2 separate regions of the Homo sapiens genome follow, and region 2 is linked to region 1. The links are contacts of gene promoters, found by promoter capture Hi-C in human tissues and cell types (Jung and others, 2019). All regions are on one chromosome and are shown on one strand. Each heading gives the region's core, a stretch centred on a gene start or on the middle of the fragment in contact. The rest is flanking DNA. Distances are from core to core; before and after follow the strand shown.

The links. The method cuts DNA at HindIII sites, captures the fragments that hold promoters and counts their contacts. A contact is called where the count stands out against the background at its distance.
Region 2: a fragment that was not itself captured here is called in contact with the fragment with the promoter of TRAIP in region 1 in 2 of the 25 tissues and cell types used here (adrenal gland and pancreas).

What each region holds. Positions count from the first base shown.
Region 1 is chr3:49,852,603-49,859,396 of GRCh38, reverse strand. TRAIP (TRAF interacting protein) reads left to right here and starts at 2,833. Exons shown (of 15, transcript NM_005879.3): 1 at 2,833-3,041. The coding sequence starts at 2,944. It overlaps CAMKV (CaM kinase like vesicle associated), which reads left to right. Exons shown (of 11, transcript NM_024046.5): 11 at 1-1,408. The coding sequence ends at 79. The HindIII fragment of the contact is 12,385 bases long and covers 20-6,794 here.
Region 2 is chr3:49,176,906-49,183,699 of GRCh38, reverse strand. CIMIP7 (ciliary microtubule inner protein 7) reads left to right here. Exons shown (of 4, transcript NM_001080528.3): 3 at 5,162-5,218; 4 at 5,648-6,066. The coding sequence ends at 6,064. Among named protein-coding and RNA genes, the nearest start is that of KLHDC8B, 8.7 kb to the right of the region's middle. The HindIII fragment of the contact is 5,587 bases long and covers 340-5,926 here.

The DNA.
Region 1 (6,794 bases), core at 1,584-4,083:
AGGCCAGGCTCCACCCTCTAGTAAAGGGGAAGAGGCTGCTGGTTATGCCCAGGAGTCTCAAAGGGAGGAGGCCAGCTGAGTAGGCAGCCTGGTGAGGGGGGGCAGGGGATGGGCAGGAGGGTGGGAGAGTGGATGAGGGGCTTCTCACTGTACATAGAGTCACTGGCATGATGCCCTCGCTCCCCCATGCCCCCACATCCCAGTGGGGCATAACTAGGGGTCACGGGAGAGCAGTCTCGTCTCCTGTGTGTATGTGTGTGAGTGGTGGGCAGGCCAGTGGCAGGGCCGGCCCCAGCCCCTGCATGGATTCCTTGTGGCTTTTCTGTCTTTTGCTAGCTTCACCAGTTTCTGTTCCTTGTGGGATGCTGCTCTAGGGATACTCAGGGGGCTCCTGCTCTCCTTCCCCTTCCCTTCTTGCCTCACCATTCCCCTAGGCAGGCCCTGCAGGTCCCACACTCTCCCAGGCCCTAAACTTGGGCGGCCTTGCCCTGAGAGCTGGTCCTCCAGCGAGGCCCTGTCAGCGGTCTTAGGCTCCTGCACATGAAGGTGTGTGCCTGTGGTGTGTGGGCTGCTCTAGGAGCAGATACAGGCTGGTATAGAGGATGCAGAAAGGTAGGGCAGTATGTTTAAGTCCAGACTTGGCACATGGCTAGGGATACTGCTCACTAGCTGTGGAGGTCCTCAGGAGTGGAGAGAATGAGTAGGAGGGCAGAAGCTTCCATTTTTGTCCTTCCTAAGACCCTGTTATTTGTGTTATTTCCTGCCTTTCCGAGTCCTGCAGTGGGCTGCCCTGTACCCTGAACCTCATGAGCCTCTAAGGGAAAGGAGGAACAATTAGGACGTGGCAATGAGACCTGGCAGGGCAGAGTACAAGCCCAGCACCCAGTGTCCCAGCCTTACTGGGTCCTTACCCTGGGCCAAACAGGGAGGGCTGATACCTCCTTGCTCTTCCTAGATGCCCACCTCCTACAATCTCAGCCCACAAGTCCTCTCCACCCTAGGGGGCTTGCTGCATGGCAATAACTCATAATCTGATTTGGAGGTTTGCCCTTTACAGGGGCAGATTTTCTGCTCAGTTCAACAATGAAATGAAGAGGAACTCCCTCTTTCTACAGCTCACTTCTATCAGAGGCCCAGGTGCCTCAGAGCCACATTGAGTTGCTTTTTCTGGGATGAGGAAGTAGGGTTAAACTCCCCAGTTTCCTGAGGGAGGCTCCTGACAGGTGCCCTTTGTCAGACCCTACCACAGCCTGGATAGGCAGCCACATTGGTCCTCGCCCTTGCTCGGCACTCCGTGGTGGTCCTGCCCTTCTCCCTGCATGCCTGTGGGTCTGCTCTGGTGTGTGAAGGTCGGTGGGTTAACTGTGTGCCTACTGAACCTGGCAAATAAACATCACCCTGCAAAGCCTCTGGCCACCCTCTCGCCTTTGCTTCCTCTGTCCTACTGGGGAGGAGCCCCTGGAAGGCAGTGGGGAAGGGAGAGGCTGGGAGCAGGTTCACAAGTAGTGGCTGGGAGTAGTAGTGAACAGTGCCCTGTGGATTTCTTGGGCTGAGGGTGAAGATCATCCTCACCACAGTGTATTCCTCAATGGTGGTGGTGGTGGGGGTCCTCTGAACTCTAGAAATCCATGTGAGTAGTGGGTCTTGGGCTGCATTTGGACCAAGGAATACTCCCTGGGCTGAGAGCTCAAGTAAGGGCTGCTGTTTTTGACTCCTGTTGACCGAGGAGCCTTACTCTTGATTTAGGCATAGAGCTGGAATCTACCTGGGCCAGCCACCGCAAGGACAGACCCTGCTCATAGCCAAAGATAGCTTCCCTGAGCTAGGGAGAGGGTGTAGGGTGAGCAATGCACAAAGATTCTATGCTGCTCTGTGTTGATTCCTTCTTTCTGTGAACACCTGTGCTTTCCACCTATGCCCCAAATGAAATCTCACTCTGGGTCTATTTCAGCTGGAGCAGATCAGCTTTATATTATGGGACTATGCACAGGGTTTCTTCTGGGTAGAGGGAGTAACACTGCCACAGATACTAAGCCTAAAAACCCAAAAGTTGACTTACTCCAGCCCAGGTGGGCCTGGGTGAACTCACCAGGGATGCTGCTCTCTGGGAGGACCTCAAAGATAACCTCCTCAAAGATAACTTCTCTGATGTGGGAATAATAAAAAGGATTTGTTAGTCTCTAGTCTTTGAAGCATCTGGGCCTCCAAAATTCCAACCCTACTACAGTCTCAAGCATAACTGATCCTCCTGAGAGCTAAGAGCTAAAGTCAGGGTACTGGCCCTAGTGTCTCCAAACTCAAGGATAGTCATATCTTACTTGGATGAAGCCAAGGTTGGCCTGGGGTGACCTGAGGGACTGGGGCCTATGTGTCCATCTTTCTAGAATCGCCCGGAACTGAGGACTGAGAGGGTAGGGTATTGTGGTCTATGGGAACTACAGACCATAGCGCATGGTCCATCACTGTCCAGAGCCCAAGGGACCCATCGGGACCATTGTTCTATTCCCTTGCGGCTGCGGTTTTCTCTGCCTTGGCCCAGCCTGCCTCGCGCCAGCTCTGGCATGGGACCACAATGCGCTGCCTTGCCCTGGAAAAGGGTCCAGCTGGCAGCCTCGCTGCTCCCCGCCTTGATATAATGCTGCGCTCTCAAGTGGCAGGTCGAGTCTCCCCAGAGGACGCCTGAGAGCGACCGCGCTCCGCCCAGGATTCTCTACGGCCTCGGGGCCGCTAAGCCCCGCCCATAGTTCCGCCCATCCGAGAATTTGTCCAATCCAGGCGAAGTATTCACGCTCCGCCCAAAGTTTTGTGTTGTCACTTCCGGCCCGCTCCAGGAAGTCGTGCTGCGGAGCCAAATTTGAAGCAAGCGGAGGCGCGGGGGCGCGTCTACGAAGCCGGACCTGTAGCAGTTTCTTTGGCTGCCTGGGCCCCTTGAGTCCAGCCATCATGCCTATCCGTGCTCTGTGCACTATCTGCTCCGACTTCTTCGATCACTCCCGCGACGTGGCCGCCATCCACTGCGGCCACACCTTCCACTTGCAGTGGTGAGTGACTGCAGTGTTGGGGCCCGGTGTTTGCCCGGGTACCGCTTCAGGGCCTTGAGGTGTTGGGCCTCCAGGCGGTCCAACCCCGGAATCCAGACAAGTGATGAGAACCTTCCTCCTAGACGAGGCCCCACGGGAGCTTCCCAACCTGGGCAGAAGTGGGTCAGGACAGGCTTTCTGGTAGAGGTGATAGCTGAGCTAAGCCTGAGGGGGACTAAGATGGCTCAGTGAAGATAGATGCTTCCTTGATCACCTATACAAACAGATGTGATTTCAAAACCGTTAGCCTGGGCAAGGGTGAGCTTTCACCACATCAACAAGTCCTTTTATTTCTTCCAGATAGAAACCTGCTAGGCTTCTGGCTACCCAAGAGAGTTTGCTGTGCCTTACTTGATGGTTTGGAATTATTCTACCCAGAGTCATCTCACTGTCCAGACACCCCAATGTATTCGCCATGTCAGCAAACCCGTTTAACATGGGGAAGGCAAGGAGATGCTCCCCTATCCAGGGGTCCTGCTGACCGTGTAGGGCCATTCTGTTGAGTGTACAGCTAGTGGGGAAAGATTCCCCTAGCAGATGTGGACAGGCCGGTTTGGACCTCCTAGCAAAAGAGATAAGGCAGCGTTACCCCTGGGAATGGTGGGTGATAATAATCACAGGGTCTTGTGGGGCTAAAGGCCCTAGGAAGCAGAAAGGCAGGCATGACACTGATGGCTGCTGGCTTACTTGCAAAGCTTTGTTTAGGCCTGTGTTGCTGACAGCCTGAGCCCCATGCTGAGGGAGCCACTGCTGTTTGGTTAGACTAGAAATTAAGCTCGCCTCTAAGCGTACTCTATTTTCTGTTTGCCTACTCTATTTTCTTCTATCCTTTTACTTTATTTATTTATTTTTATTTTATTTTATTTTTGAGATGGAGTCTCGCTCCTGTCGTGTAGGCTGGAGTGCAGTGGCGTGATCTCGGCTCACTGCAACCTCCACCTCCTGAGTTCAAGTGATTCTCCTTCCTCAGCCTCCCAAGTAGCTGACATTACAGGCGTGCGCCACCACGCCCAGCTAATTTTTGTGTTTTTCATAGACAGGGTTTCTCCATGTTGGCCAGGCTGGTCTCGAACTCCTGACTTCAGGTGATCCACCCACCTTGGCCTCTCAAAGTGCTAGGGCCTATCCTTTTACTTTAAACTTTTCTGTGTCCTTGTGTTTTACATGTATCCCTTGAAACAGCATTTATTTCTTTTTTTGTATATTAAAAAGTACTTTAGCTTACTGCAAAGATCTTTATTTTATTTTATTTTGAGACAGGGTCTCACTCTGTTACACAGGCTGCAGTGCAGTGGTGCCATCTCGGCTCACTGCAGCCTCTACCTCCTGGGCTAAGGTGATTCTCCCATCTTAGCCTCCCAAGTAGCTGGGACTACAGGCGCCTGCCACCATGCTTGACTATTTTTTTTTTTTTGTATTTTTAGTAGAGATGGGGTCTTGCTATGTTGCCCAGGCTGGTCTTGAACCCCTGGACTCAAGTAATCCACCCACCTCTGCCTCCCAAAGTGCTAGGATTACAGGTGTGAACCACCGCACCCAGCCTTGGAAAACAACATTTAGTTGGACTTTTAAAAATCCAGTCTGATAATCTTTGTATTTAACTGGACCATTTAGTCTACTTAAAATTGTTGCAATTACTGATTAAATAAAGAGTAAACATATTGTCTTTAGTCGATTCTGTTTTGCCTTGCCTATTATATCTTATTGTCTCCTTTCTTGCCTTGGTAGGAATTGGTTAAATATTCTGTATTTCTCCATTTTTCCCTCAGTTAGTTGGGTCGTTATATACCCCATTTCCATTTATAAGTGGTTATCCTAGAAATTAAGGTATGTATCCTTAACTTACCAATTTCAAGGTTAATCAACACCTTTCTCATTTTCCCAGGCAACTCAAAGAGCTTAGAATACTAACATTCTTTTCCCACTTCTACGTTATTGTTGAATATTTTAATTGTGTGTATGTGTGGTATTTTTTTCGTTGGTGTTATTTTTGAGACAGAGTCCTGCTCTCTTGCCCAAGCTGGTCTGCAGTGGTACAATCTCTGCTCACTGCAGCCTTGACCTCCTGGACTCAAGCGATCCTCCTGCCTCAGCCTCACAACTAGCTGGGACTACAGGTGCATGTCACCATGCCCAGCTAATTTTTGTTTTTTGTAGAGACAGGATTTCGCCATGCTGCCCAGGCTGGTTTGAAACTCCTGTACTCAAGTGATCCACCCTCCTTGGCCTGCCAAAGTGCTGGGGTTTACAGGCATGAGCCACCACGACCGGCCAATTGTATGTTTTTAAGTAAAGTTTTTGTTTGGAATAATTTTTTTTTTTTTTTGAAACAGGATCGTGCTGTGTCGCCCAGGCTGGAGTTTATAATTGTTTCTTCTTGCAGGATTGAACTTTTTTTAAATGTTCTTCTTTGTCCTTCTTTGTCTCTTGTAACTTTAATTCAAAGTCTGTCTTGCCTAATTTTTTTTTTGAGATGGAGTCTCGTTCTGTGGCCCAGACTGGAGTGCAGTGGCGCAATCTTGGCTCACTGCAACCTCTGCCTCTTGGGTTCACGTGATTCTCCTACCTCAGCCTCCCGAGTAGCTGGGATTACAGGCACACACCACTGTGCCTGGCTAATTTTTTTTGTATTTTTAGTAGAGGCAGAGTTTCACTATGTTGGCCAGACTGGTCTCAAACTCCTGACCTCGTGATCCGCCCACCTCGGCCTCCCAAAGTGCTGGGATTACAGGCGTGAGCTACCGTGCCTGGCCTATCTTGTCTAATTTAAAGTCCATTTTATCTGCTATTAGTATAGCCACTTCAGCTGTCTTTTGGTGACTGCATGGTATATCTTTTTTCATCTGTTTTATTTTATTTTATTTTATTATTGTTTTTAGAGACAAGGTCTCGCTATGTTAGCCAGGCTGGTCTCAAACTCCTGGCCTAAAGCAATCCTCCTGCCTTGGCCTTCCAAAGTGCTGGGAATACAGGTGTGAGCCACCACACTCGGCCCTTATCCAACTTCTAGCTTCCGTTGTAGCTATTGAAGTCAGATTTTAGTTTATCAGTTACTCCTTTAAGCATACTTTGGAACTTTATCCTCAGACTCTCATTACCTTTAGAATTTTCTCTGATTTTGGCTTTCTGCAGTTTTGGTATAGTGTATCCAATATGAATTTCTTTTTACCTTTTTCTTTTCTTTTTTTTTTTTTTGAGACAGAGTCTTGCTCTGTTGCCCAGGCTGGAGCACAGTGGGACAATCTCAACTCACTGCAACCTCCACCTCCCTGGTTCAAGCAATTCTCCTGCCTCAGCCTCCCGAGTAGCTGGGACTAAAGGCACGTGTCATCATGCCCGGCTAAATTTTGTACTTGTAGCAGAGACAGGGTTTCACCATGTTGGCCAGGCTGGTCTCGAACTCCTGACCTCAGGTGATCTTCCCACCTTGGTCTCCCAAAGTGCCGGGATTACAGCCATGAGCCATTGTGCCTGGCCGAATTTCTTTTTACAAATTCTGCTCGGGATTCATTAGATTTCTTTAACGTGTAGAGCAATTTCTTTCTTTCTTTCTTTTTTTTTTGAGACGGAGTCTCGCTGTGTCACCCAGGCTGGAGTGCAGTGGCACGATCTTGGCTCACTGCAAGCTCTGCCTCCCGGGTTCACGCCATTCTCCTGCCTCAGCCTCCCGAGTAGCTGGGACTACAGGCGCCTGCCACCATGCCCAGCTAATTT
Region 2 (6,794 bases), core at 1,884-4,383, 680 kb after region 1:
GTGGTAGTTGCATGTTTAGTGTTTTTGTTGTTTTGTTTTGTTTTCGAGACAGAGTCTCACTCTGTCGGCCAGGCTGGAGTGCAGTGGCACGATCTCAGCTCACTGCAACCTCCGCCTCCCGGGCTCAAGCAATCTCATTACAGGTGTGTGCCACCATGCCCAGCTAATTTTTGTATTTTTAGTAGAGACAGGGTTTCACCATATTGGCCAGGCTGGTCTTGAACTCCTGACCTCAGGTTATCCACCCACCTCAGCCTACCAAAGTGCTGGGATTACAGGATGAGCCACCGCGCCCGGCTGCATGTTTAGTTTTTAAAAGAAACTGCCAAACTGTTTTTGAGAGTGGCTTTACCACTTTATATTCCTACCAGCAATGCATGAATGATCTGGTTTCTCTGCATTCTCACCAATACCTGATGTTGTCTCCATTTTCAATTGGAGCCATTCTGATAGATGTGTAGTGATATCTTATTGTGGTTTTAATTTGCATTTCCCTGATGTTTAATGATGAATATCTTTTTGAGAGGTGACAGCGTGCTGGCAGCCCTCACAGCCCTTGCTTGCTCTCGGCACCTCCTCTGCCTGGACTCCCACTTTGGGGCACTTGAGGAGCCCTTCAGCCCGCCGCTGCGCTGTGGGAGCCCCTTCCTGGGCTTGCCGAGGCCCGAGACGGCTCCCTCAGCTCGCGGGGAGGTATGGAGGGAGAGGCCAGAGGGGGAACTGGGGCTGCGCGCTGTACTTGCCGGCCAGCGTGAGTTCCGGGTGGGCATGGGCTCAGCGGGCTGCACTCGGAGTGGCTGGCCCCCCCGCCCCGGGCAGTGAGGGGCTTAGCACCTGGGCCAGCAGCTGCTGTGCTGAATTTCTCGCCAGGCCTTAGCTGCCTTCCCGCGGGGCAGGGCTCGGGACCTGCAGCCTGCCATGCCTGAACCTCCCCCTTCACTCCCTGGGCTCCTGTGCAGCCCGAGCCTCCCCAACAAGCGCCGCCCCCTGCTCCATGGCATCCAGTCCCATTGACCACCCAAGGGCTGAGAAGTGTGGGCACACGGCGCGGGACTGGCAGGCAGCTCCACCTGCAGCCCCAGTGCGGGATCCACTGGGTGAAGCCAGCTGGGCTCCTGAGTCTGGTGGGGACTTGGAGAACCTTTATGTCTAGCTAAGGGATTGTAAATACACCAATGGGCACTCTGTATCTAGCTCAAGGTTTGTAAACACACCAATCAGCACCCTGTGTCTAGCTCAGGGTTTGTGAATGCACCAATTGACATTCTGTATCTAGCTACTCTGGTGGGGGACTTGGAGAACCTTTGTGTCCACACTCTGTATCTAGCTAATCTGGTGGGGAAGTGGAGAACCTTTGTGTCTAGCTCAGGGATTGTAAACGCACCAATCAGTGCCCTGTCAAAACAGACTACTGGGCTCTACCAATCAGCAGGATGTGGGTGGGGCCAGATAAGAGCATAAAAGCAGGCTGCCCCAGCCAGCAGTGGCAACCCGCTTTGGTCCCCTTCCACGCTGTGGAGGCTTTGTTCTTTCACTCCTTGCAATAAATCTTGCTGCTGCTCACTCTTTGGGTCCACGCTGCCTTTATGAGTTGTAACACTCACCACGAAGGTCTGCAGCTTCACTCCTGAAGCCAGTGAGACCACGAACCCACCCGGAGGAACGAACAACTCCAGACGCGCCGCCTGAAGAGCTGTAACACTCACCGCGGAGGTCTGCAGCTTCACTCCTGAGCCAGCGAGACCACGAACCCACCAGAAGGAAGAAACTGGGAACACATCCGAACGTCAGAAGGAACAAACTCCGGACATGCCGCCTTTAAGAACTGTTAACACTCACCGCGAGGGTCCGCGGCTTCAGTCTTGATGTCAGTGAGACGAAGAACCCACCCATTCCGGACACATTTTCATGTGTTATTTGTCGTCTGTAAATCTTCTTTGGTTAGATGTCTTCATGTTTGTCCATTTTCTAATTAGACTGTGATTTTACTGTTGAGTTGAGAGACTTCCTTATATATTCTAGTCCTCTGTTGGATATATGGTTTATAAATATTTTCTCCCAGTCTGTAGCTTGGTTCGCAGTGGCACGATCATGGCTCATTGCACCCTTGACCTCTTAAGCTCATGTGATCCTTCCACTTCAGCTTTCCTAGTTGCTGGGACCACAGGTATGCACCACCACGCCTGGCTAATTTGTTATTTTTTGTAGAGACAGTGTCTGGGAGCCTTTCCACACTGCCCAGGCCGGTCTTGAACTCCTGGGCTCAAGCAATCTTTCCTCCTTGGCCTCTCAAAGTCCTGGGATTACGGGTGTAAGCCACTGCACGGCCTCAGCTTGCTTTTTTTTTTTTTTTTTTCTTGGAGATAGAGTCTCTCTGTTGCCAAGGCTGGAGTGCAGTGGTGAGATCTCGGCTCACTGCAACCTCCACCACCCAAGTTCAAGCAATTCTCCTGCCTCAGCCTTTCGAGTAGCTGGGATTACAGGCGCCCACCACCACACCTAGCTAATTTTTGTATTTTCAGTAGAGACAAGGTTTCACCATGTTGGCCAGGCTGGTCTCGAATTCCTGGCTTCAAGTGATCTATCCGCCTCTGCCTCCCAAACTGCTGGGATTATAGGCATGAGCCACTGTGCCCAGCCTCAGCTTGCATTTTGAGGAATGAAAGCTTCCCACCTTCTTGGAGTTTTCATTCTGCTTGAAGACTACCATCAGACTGTCTAAGGCAGGCGGTTCTAAAAAGGGAACTCTTTTTTTTTTTTTTTTTTTTTTGAGACGGAGTCTCACTCTGTCGCCCAGGCTGGAGTGCAGTGGTGTGATCTCAGCTAACTACAAGCTCCACCTCCCGGGTTCACGCCATTCTCCTGCCTCAACCTCCCGAGTAGCTGGGACTACAGGCGCCCGCCATCACACCCAGCACATTTTTTGTATTTTTAGTAGAGACGGGGTTTCACCATGATAGCCAGGATGGTCTCGATCTCCTGACCTCGTGATCCGCCCGCCTCGGCCTCCCAAAGTGCTGGGATTACAGGCGTGAGCCACCGCACCTGGCCTAAAAAGGGAACTCTTAAACACACATACAATAAGCTCTACTCTGAAGATTCTGGTTCAGGGATGGAGCCAGCCCCTGTATTTTATCTGGGGACCTGCTGTCAGCCATTACCTATACTCCCAAGCCAGCCAAGCCTGACCTCACCAGATCTGGCCACTTCAGGTCTACAGCAGGAGAAACTGAGTGACTGGAGAGGGAATGGCTCTGCAGGCAGAAGCCAAGCACAAAGGCAAGAAGGTGTTCTTGGGACAGATTCCTGCTGAAGTCTGGAGGCCTAAGAGATGGGCTTTCTCTGCATGGGAGTGGAGCAAGGCTCTCTAGCTCCAACTGAGCCAAAGTAAATGCCCTGGGGCCAGGACCTTCTGTCCCTGTTCATTAATTTTTTTTTTTCTGTTGCCCAGGCTGGAGTGCAGTGGCTCAATCTTAGCTCACTGCAACCTCTGCCTCCCAGGTTTAAGCAATTCTCCTGCTTCAGCCTCCTGAGTAGCTGGGATTACAGCCAAACACCATCACACCCAGCTAATTTTTTTGTGTGTTTTAGTAGAGACGGGGTTTCACCATGTTGGCCAGGTTGGTCTCGAACTCCTGACCTCAAGTGATCTGTCCGCCTCGGCCTCCCAAAGTGCTGGGATTACAGGCATGAGCCACCAAGCCCGGCTAATTTTTGTATTTTTAGTAAAAACGGGGTTTCACTATGTTGGCCAGGCTGGTCTCAAACTCCTGACCTCAGGTGATCCACCCGCCTCGGCCTCCCAAAGTGCTGGGATTACAGGTGTGAGCCACCGTGCCCAGCCTGTTTATTGATTTAACAGCAACATTTATTGAGCTGTGTCAGGCATTATTCTCAGTGCTGAAGTTATAGATGTGAGCAAGACAGACCGCCTTTGCCCACAAGCAGCTTATGTTTAATGGCGGGGCATGAGATGTTCTAATCAGTGGGGGTAACATCACATAGAACAATATAGTATGTTAGCAGGTGAAAAATGCAGGGTTAGGGTGATGGAACTATTGGCCTAGTGCTCAAGGAAGGAAAAGAGGGAGGTGTGAGGGAATTATATGGCCAGGAGAAGGAACAGGTGGTGCAAAGCCCTAAGTGGGAGCACCTGGTGTGTCTGAGGAGCAGTGAGGAAATCAGTGTGGCTGGAGGTAACAGAAGGACCAATATCATGTGGGTCTCACAGACCACTATGATGACTTTGGCTATCACAAATAGGAGGAACTGTTGTGGATTTTCAGCAAATGAGATGTGATCTCATTTATGTACTAACAGAATTATGCTGGCTGCTAAGCAGACAGCAGACTGGAGGGGTAAGTTTGAAAGCAGGGACACCAGGCAGGAAGCTCTTGCAATAATTCAGGCAAGAGAGTAATGTGGCTTGGATCGGGGAAAAGAGTGGGCATGCTGAGATGTGGTCTGGTCCTGGGCACATTTTGACCACAGTATCAACAGGATACTTGCATATTCAATGTGGGGTATGAGAGAAGAGAATCAAGGGGACTCAAGGTGTTTGACAGGATCTGGCTGCCGTGGTCTGAGCTGGGGGAGGCTATAGGTGGAGTGTGTCTGGGGATGACCCAAAGCTCAGTCATATGTTTGGAGATGCTCAATTAGGCATTTACATGGAGATGTGGAGTAGGCAGTTGTCTACTGAACCCAAAGTTCAGGAGAAAGTTTGAGCTGGAGATAGAAATTCCAGTTTTCAGATGGCATTTAGAGCCAAGAGGCTGGGTATGTTGATGGGGGAGTAAGTGTGGATGCAGGGGAGGAGAGGACTAGAGTCCTGGGCAATCAAGAGTTAAGGCCCAACTTGAAACTTGGCCACTGCTCCCCTGATGGGAGGATGTTCTAGCAGATGCCTCCTTATTGAGGACCCTCCTCAATAAGGGTTCCACGGGCTTCTGCTTCAGGGCAAGTCCCAGGTTGAGATATCCCAGGACTGAAGTGTTGCTTTAATTAGTCTCTGCCCTCTGTCTGTTGGCAGTTTAGCAGCTTAGGGGCAGTGGCTCCTGGTGACTTCCCTCCATTAAGGACCCTGAGGCAGTGATCCAGGTAAGGGTGGGTAAATAAGCATCATTTTCCCCATTCACCTTCTTTCTCACTGTCTTTCAAGGAGCCGGCGCAGCGACACTTCTTCTCCAAGCACGACAACCGTACTTCCTTTGACAAAGTGAGTGCCGAAGACAGGAAGAATGGCAGGCAGTCCCCCAGCCTAAGCTGAAGTCTGGACAGAGCAGATGGTAGGGTGGAGGGGATGACACTGAGGGAGGGCTCCTTATGAAGGCAGAGGAGTGGCTGTCTTCCCCCACAAACTTTCTCCTCTGGGAAACAGCCTATTCCCCCAAACAGAGACATCTCTATGTTGGTTTCCTCTGCCAACTTGCCAGACAATATGCAAGTATCCTGTGGGCCACTAACTTTCTGGGTGCTTCACCTTAGAATGAAAGACATCACTGGGGAGGCAGGCCAAGGAGGCCAGGGTACAGGCCAAGACAGCCAGGCATAGGACAGGTATCACCAAGCAGACTTGGGGTTAGGAGGGGCCCAAGAAGGTGCTTGGTGCCAGGAATGTGGGCCAAGGGCCCATACCGTTGAGGAGGGTCCCTATTGCCTGCTGCAGGGAATCGGAAGGCGGAAGGACCTGGAGCGCCTGTGGCAGCGGCACACCTTCCTGCGCTGGGCACCCTGTGAGATAGAGTTGCGCCAGCAGGGGCCCCTGGAATCTTCTTACCAGGCTGATTTCAGGCCAGGCCCAGGACTCAGTGGCCTCCCCCAGCACCTCATCCACTTTGTGCAGGTCCAGCCTTCCCATACCAGGACCACCTACCAGCAGAACTTCTGCTGCCCATCCCAGGGTGGCCACTATGGCAGCTACAAGGTAGGGCCCCAGGCGCCGGTCACTGACGTACTGCCTGACCTCCCAGGGATCCCAAGACCCAAGCTGCTGCAGCACTACCTTCATGCTGGGGTCTCTGAGTGTCTAAACTGGTCCAGAGCATTAAACAAGGACAGCTGACACAGCAGCCTGTCTGTGCTTGCAGCCCACAATGGGATGTAGCCCAAGAGGCTGAAAGGTAGTAGTAGGCTGCCAGGTCCTGTGCCTGTCTCCCATGGCACTTGTGCCCATGGTGTGTTTCTGTGCTGGGCATGGGAGGTGCTGCTCTGGGATCCCTGCCACTAAGTGAGAAAGGGTAAGGCCTGCAGGAGGCTAAGAGTCCAGGAGGATTGCTATAGCCACATCAGGTGGGTTCCAGGGCCCCAAGTACTACTCTGTTCTTGCAGTAAACCCAGCTGTAGAGAGGAAGATTAGAGGGCAGTCCCCAGCCTAAGTTGAAGTCAGGACAGAGCAGGTGGCAGGGTGAAGGGGGTGACACTGAGGGAGGGCTCCTTATGAAGGCAGCGGAGTGACTAACTTCCCCACAACCTTTCTCCTCTGGGAAACAGCCCATTCCCCCAGAGACATCTCTGTGTTGGTTTCCTCTGCCAGCGTGCCAGACAATGTGCAAATATCCTGTGGGCCACTGACTTTCTAGGTGCTTCACCCTAGAATGAAAGGCATCACTGGGGAAGCAGGTCAAGTACTCAGTTTAGCTATGGGGAAAGCAGACCCCAGAGACCAGTACTAGTGGGCGACAAAGGCTGGAAGAAGGAAGAGTTGGCAGCTTTCTCAGGAGGCAGCTGCCTTTGAGGGGTTTGTTGGGTGGCCACACAGTCCTGTCCAAGAGACGGCTGCCCCACAGCTGAGA